Linked DNA regions of Homo sapiens: region 2 is linked to region 1. The links are contacts of gene promoters, found by promoter capture Hi-C in blood cells and fetal thymus (Javierre and others, 2016). All regions are on one chromosome and are shown on one strand. Each heading gives the region's core, a stretch centred on a gene start or on the middle of the fragment in contact. The rest is flanking DNA. Distances are from core to core; before and after follow the strand shown. Region 1 holds the start of GGCT (gamma-glutamylcyclotransferase). Region 2 overlaps SCRN1 (secernin 1).

Evidence for each region. Contacts are between HindIII fragments. The CHiCAGO score rates a contact against its expected background, and 5 or more counts as called.
Region 2: a fragment that was not itself captured here is called in contact with the fragment with the promoter of GGCT in region 1 in 2 of 17 cell types (total B cells and neutrophils); the score reaches 6.3 in total B cells.

Annotation. Positions count from the first base shown.
Region 1 is chr7:30,503,393-30,506,448 of GRCh38, forward strand. It overlaps GGCT (gamma-glutamylcyclotransferase), which reads right to left and starts at 1,437. Exons shown (of 4, transcript NM_024051.4): 1 at 1,177-1,437. The coding sequence starts at 1,317. RefSeq lists enhancers at 645-1,524, 1,173-1,382, 1,525-2,403, 1,823-1,912 and a silencer at 843-1,022. The HindIII fragment of the contact is 6,754 bases long and covers 1-3,056 here.
Region 2 is chr7:29,951,045-29,954,100 of GRCh38, forward strand. All of the region lies in intron 3 of SCRN1 (secernin 1), which reads right to left. Among named protein-coding and RNA genes, the nearest start is that of FKBP14-AS1, 36 kb to the right of the region's middle. The HindIII fragment of the contact is 1,600 bases long and covers 652-2,251 here.

The DNA of each region.
Region 1 (3,056 bases), core at 187-2,686:
GCCAGAAGCTGGTTCTCTCAGTTTTGCTTAAAATCACGGCATGGGTACGTGGCCAAAACTTAGCCAATCGGGACATTCTGGGGCTTTCAATTAGAAGCTAGTGCCCAAGACAGCAGGGACTCCAGAGAGGCTGACACATTTGGGTTTCAGGAACTGCAGGGATGTACAGAGGCAGGCAGTGTCCAGGGCAGGGGGTGGTGGACAATACAGCATCCACGTTTACCAAGTTCAGCAGTGGCGTGGAAGAGGCTCCGTGGGCTGGTTCTGTTGTGTGATGCCCACTGTATTACAGTTGCTGTGCCTCCCTTTATGCTTGTCCGTTTTGTCAGCTTTGTACTCCTGCCTTCCTGGTCATTCTGTGAGCTCTCCAATAGCCTTTCAACACATTCTTTTTTTTTTTTTTTTTTTTTTTTTTGCTTAAATCAGCCAGTTTCTGTTGCTTGCAACTAAGAACTCACGATGTTAGCAGAGATCATGTTTGTCTCATTCGACGCTGTCAAAAAGGTTTTGAACATAATCTATTGCACCTCTGTCCTACAGACTGAGAGTTCCTCGAAACAGCCACTTTACTCAATCATGTTTATACCCTTAGTGTTAAGTGCCGGAAGAATATGTACTAAATGAATGAATGGACTGGGCTGAAGAGCAATGATTTACCAACACTGGTTATAGTTCATGCAGCCCCTTGACCTAACTGAACACAGCATTATTACAAATAAGACATGGTCCCAGCTTTCAGGACCTCTTAGATGAGGAGCGAAAGGCAGGTAAACGGATTTTCACAATGCCAGGTGAGAAGTGCTGTAACAAAGGTTATGTACAGAACAGAAGGCAACCAATTCCCAGACACGGGTCAGAGAAGACTCTCCAGAAGTACCAACTGTATGCAATCTGTTAAGTTAGTGGACGAGAGGCCAAATCGGTGCAGACCGAGCAGCCGGTGCAAAGGCCAGGAGGGGGAAAGCTCCAGGCAGCCCGAGAGGGCACCGTGGCCCGGGCAGGGCCGGGCAGTGGGCGCAGCGGAGGAGGTGGACCCGCCCAGGAGGCGGAAGCCGCGTCCTAGTACCCTCATCAAGAAGAACTGCATTCCTGGCCCGATCGGCCACGTGTGCCCCCGAGGAAGCGCCTTCTGGGCATCCCGGCCCCGGCGTGGGTAGCGCGGGAGGGGGCACTCACCTGCAGGCGGGCCACACAGAAGAACGCCGCCGAGGGGTTTCGGAGGTGGATCCTCTCTGTCAGCAGGTTGCTGCCGTAGGCAAAGTACAGAAAACTCTCCTCATCTGGACCCGTGACGTCCTTGCAGCCCGAGTTGGCCATATCCCACTACGCCCCTGCACTGGAGCCTGAAGCAGAGTGTAAGGAACGGCCAGAGAGCGCAACACTGGGGCCCACTACCCCGGCGCAGTGACCGCCGCGCGGCAGCCTCAGGGTTAGGGGACTGGCGGGAAGCGTGGGCCGGTCGAGTCAGGAGCGAGCGCTCTCCTGATTGGCTGCCGGTCCCCACCGACCTGAGTCGCCCCCTTTGATTGGCCATCCCCACGGCCTTCCCTCCGCCTTCCGCCGAGACTCAGAAATAGTCTGTCCTGAAGCAATCCGGCGCTGGCTCCTCATTGGACACGACCTACTGATGTCCCGCCCCTCCTTGCTCAAGGCTTCCTCTGATTGAGGGGTGGACAGGCACTCCTCACAGGCGGGTCGGGTCCCATGGACACTGGCTGAAGGTCGTGGCGCGTGACTGGTTTCTTCGCTCTGGGGTGCTTGTGTGTGGTTCTTTGGTACTTTCTGTGCCTTAGGAAGTTCTGGTCAGATCTGAGGCGAAACAGCGGCCCAGGCGACTCCATCAACGGCTCCCTCATCCGGCAGCTCGCCGGGTCCTGCCTTCCTGGCCTAGAGGAGTCGGGCAGGACGGGTCCGTTCACCCTTTCTGCTGGTTCCGGCACCCCCAGCACTGGTCATCAATCTGACCCCTTTCCACGGACCCGTCGCCTGCTGGAGCGGCCCCTCTGAATGCTTGGGACTCCCTTCCCTGTTACATGGAAGTTACATGCCTGGGCTTAAATCCCGACGCTGCCATTTACTAGCCAAGTAACTTTGGGCACCTCTGGTCTCCGTTTCCTCTTTTTAAAAATCGGGATCATAATATAAGTTAGGGTCACAGTAGAAACCCCTATATTGTGTTTTGGTTACCCCCTCCCACACACACACACATCCTGGGTGTATTTTTTAAAACCTATATTGTTAACTTTTGAATGAACATAAGGGCATAGGAACATTGTCTATCCTTGACACCCAGCTATTAATCTCTAAATACCACCCCCCACTAAAAGGTACCAAGTGATCCTTCGAGAAATGACTGATGCCAGGTCAGGAGCTAGGAGTGAATGAGGACAACTTGGAACATCTTGTGTCAGAAGCTCAGGACGCCTCTCAAGACGAACGAGGTCCTTCTAAAAGGACATGGGAACCAGCCTGAAGTTGCCCACTGGCCAAAATTAGAACAATTTGAGAATCAAAAATAACAATGACTGCAAACTGAAAAATGATTGGAAACTTTAAACATAAAAAAGCCATTCCCCCCAAAGAGTAATCCAAATTAAAAAAAAAACTATAACTTCATTTGCCACACTATTGGTGGTGACTATTACACCAACTTTACTCTGCAAAGTGATAATTTAAGAAAACAAACAGGTATTCCGCCTTTCTAGTAGCAGCTGTATTTCGGGGTAACTGAAATACAGCTGATGACGAGCATCAGTTGATGAGGAAACAGTTCTCTTTACAAAAGTATGCCAACTAAGTCATCCTAAATGAATAATGGAATTTTATAATTGATTCATGCCAGGATCATCAGTGATATCATTTGGTGAAAAGGTGATAGGGAACAGGATATTCACTTGATGCCAAATTACTCCCTGAGGATTACTGCTGGTTACAATTTATTTATTTTATTTTTATTTTTTTGAGACAGAGTCTCACTCCGTCGCCCAGGCTGAAGTGCAGTGGTGTGATGTCGGCTCACTGCAAGCTCCGCCTCCCGGGTTCACACCATTCTCCTG
Region 2 (3,056 bases), core at 202-2,701, 550 kb before region 1:
GGAGAGAAGAGCTGCAGCCCTTTGGGGAGTCCAGACCTAGGGGCTCCCTGAGCCAGGACTGTGACACTCTCTTTGGGGCTCTGCAGTTCCTGGCATTTCCAAGCTTCCAGGCACCACGTTTCTTGGTGACTGCAGTGGAAGCCATTTGCAGTACGCCTGGTCCAGCTGCAGCCTCGCACAGAGCTAGTGCCTGTGCCAACGCCTAGAGCTGCCCATCCCGCCACAGCTGGCACACCTGGCTGTGTGCAGTGGCTGGACCCCATGCTTGCTCACACACCCCTTTCCTCTCTGCGCCTGGCTTGTGCTTGGAAGGCATGGGATCCAGGCCAGTAGCATAAGCTGAGTACAGTGTGCAGGGCCAAGTGGTGGAACAAGCCCAGCAGCCCGACCAAAACTCAGGCAAAGGTGCCACCAGCCACAGAGGTTTCCGGCTGGAAAAGCAACACCGTAAGGATCGTGTGACACTGGGATTACAGGCATGAGCCACTGCACCTGGCCAAATTCCCACTTTTATGTTAGCTTCTATTGGCTACTCATTACTTGGAACCAACTTCATGAAACATGCAAAAATGTGTACGTGTCTTTATATGCCTCTTCCTCAGGAGAAAGGGACTAGTGGTCAGAGAACAGTGAATCAAAAATAACAGATGAAGCTTAGCTTTGAGATAAATGTCACTGAAAACGCATTATAAAAACAATATTGCCTAATGCTTACATTCCCACAAGCCTCTAGGAAACATACACAAATTATACCTTTATCTTAAAATCAGTGCCTATTACATTGCTACTGTCATTCCCTTATGTCTCTTTGAACTGAGGTTGGATTTCACATGCTGCTGGAAAGTGCAAAGTACCAGGATAAGTATAGGGGCAACTACTGTATTCATTGAATAATCAACCACAGTCTAGCAGGCCCTTGAAAGAGCATGTGAAATGGACATAGCCTGCTCTCATAGAAGCTGTCCAGGGAGGAACTGGCACTAGACACAGAGTGCAAGCAAGGCCAGAGAAAGTAGTGGTTCCTCACACAGCAATACCTAGGGAGGCACTGAGCCCCAAATTAAGAGAATGAAACCAACTGATAGAAAGTTTCCTGTGGAGCAGCGGTTCTCACCGTAACCGTGCATCAGCACCAGCTGGAGAACTTGTTAAAACAGGTTGCTGGCCCCTGGGTGTGAAATAGGGACCGACAATTTACATTTCTAGCAAGTTCCCAGGTGATGCTTGTTCACCAGCCATACTTTGAGAACCACTACTCTAGAACTTGCCACTCAAACTGTGGTTTTTTGACTTGTAGTATCAATATCATCTGGAGCTTCTTAAAAATTAATACTAGAATTAAATCATTAAAAAGGAAATCTGGGGTGGGATGTGGTGGTCCACGCCTGTAATCCCAGCACTCTGAGAGGCTGAGGCAGGCGGATCACTTGAGGTCAGAAGTTCGAGACCAGCCTGGTCAACATGGTGAAACCCCGTCCCTACTAAAAATACAAAAATTAGCTGGGTGTGGTGGCATACACCTGTAATCCCATCTACTCAGGAGGCTGAGGCAGGAGAATCGCTTGAACCTGGGAGGCGGAGGTTGCAATCAGCCGAGATCATACCACTGCACTCCTAGGAAACAGAGCAAGACTTGTCTAAAAAAAAAAAAGAGAGAGAGAGAGAGAATGCTGGGTAATGAGCATGAGTTACTTTTAGGATTTGGTTGGTATGAAATGACCCTTCAAAATCTGGCTATGCTTGGCTGAACTGATCATAGCTGCTTTAAAGATGAACTCAAAAGATCCACTTAAGGTGCAGATGCCTGTGACTCCATCCCCACCCTGAAGAACCTACCAGTGCTCTTCACACCCTTTTTATTACAATAGCTGGACATGGCTAGCCCAAGATGGAGTTAACGTTATATGGTGAAGGTTAAACTCTCACCCTGTCATCTACTCCTGACCTTGCTAATTATCACAATGCCAAGTCTGTGACAAACATATCTTCTGTGTCTACCTCCCTCAGCCTTGCAGCTTCAGGTCAAATGAACCTGCCCCTCAAAGCATTCCCAAATATGACCAGTCTGTGATAATCTGTGAACATCCCGCAGTGTTTGCTGAAGGCCACACCCTGGAATTCTGTGCCATTCACGTGGCATCAAATCTCAGATCACTTTGAGTTACCTCTCTCCTACTATCTTCTTATATTATTCTTAAAATTTCCATTGCTCAATTTTCTTCTTCCTGCAACCAGACTAAAATCCCTTTGAAGCTTTGAGCTGCTTCATGTACCCACAGAGTCTAGAACAAAGTAGATATTCAGTAAACTCCTGTTGCTTTATTGGTTGATAATCTTAAAAAGATATATCAGGTGCTCTGAAGAAAGGCAAAAAATCCTCTTCCACTGTCCCTTAGAAATCAACTGTTAAAATGGTAATTTTGCCTGTTCTATAAGTCTCATACTGCAAATACAGTAAAAAATACTGGAGAGCTGTCAAAACATAAGCTAAAAAAAAAAAAACTTCTTGTTATTCTATACATTTCATTTTGCTAATCAAGAGAAAACTAGCTATATATAACTGGTTTTTAAAAACTGGCTTTTTCTGCCTTTTCCCCAGCTCAGGGAAGCTGCTCCTCCTGAGTTTATAAGAATGAGGAACAGTAAGGAAAGGTAAGGAAGGCAGGAAGTCACTGTGCTACCAAAAGGGTGTCCCTCGCAGACCTCTCCATCAGGTGGCAGAGGAGTGAGTTCCCGAGACCACTGTCTAAATGTGCCATTTCCCCCTACAAAACCAAAATCCAACCCCATTCCTTTTTCTAGGATGTTAGCTTTGGGAGTTCTTCGGAAGTCATCCAATCTAGACCTCATATTGAAAAAATGAGGAAACTGTGGCCCAGAGAGGTGATGTAACTTGGTACATCCACACTGAAAGCCAAGAACTCCAGCTCCCAGCCCAATCTTCTTTCAACTATGTCATGATTTTATTTCATTTCACTATTTCAGGGACAAAAAAAGGCATTTCAGAATGTTGCTTTGTTCCAGCCTACCTTCTACTTTAGTCATTCATTCAAAAT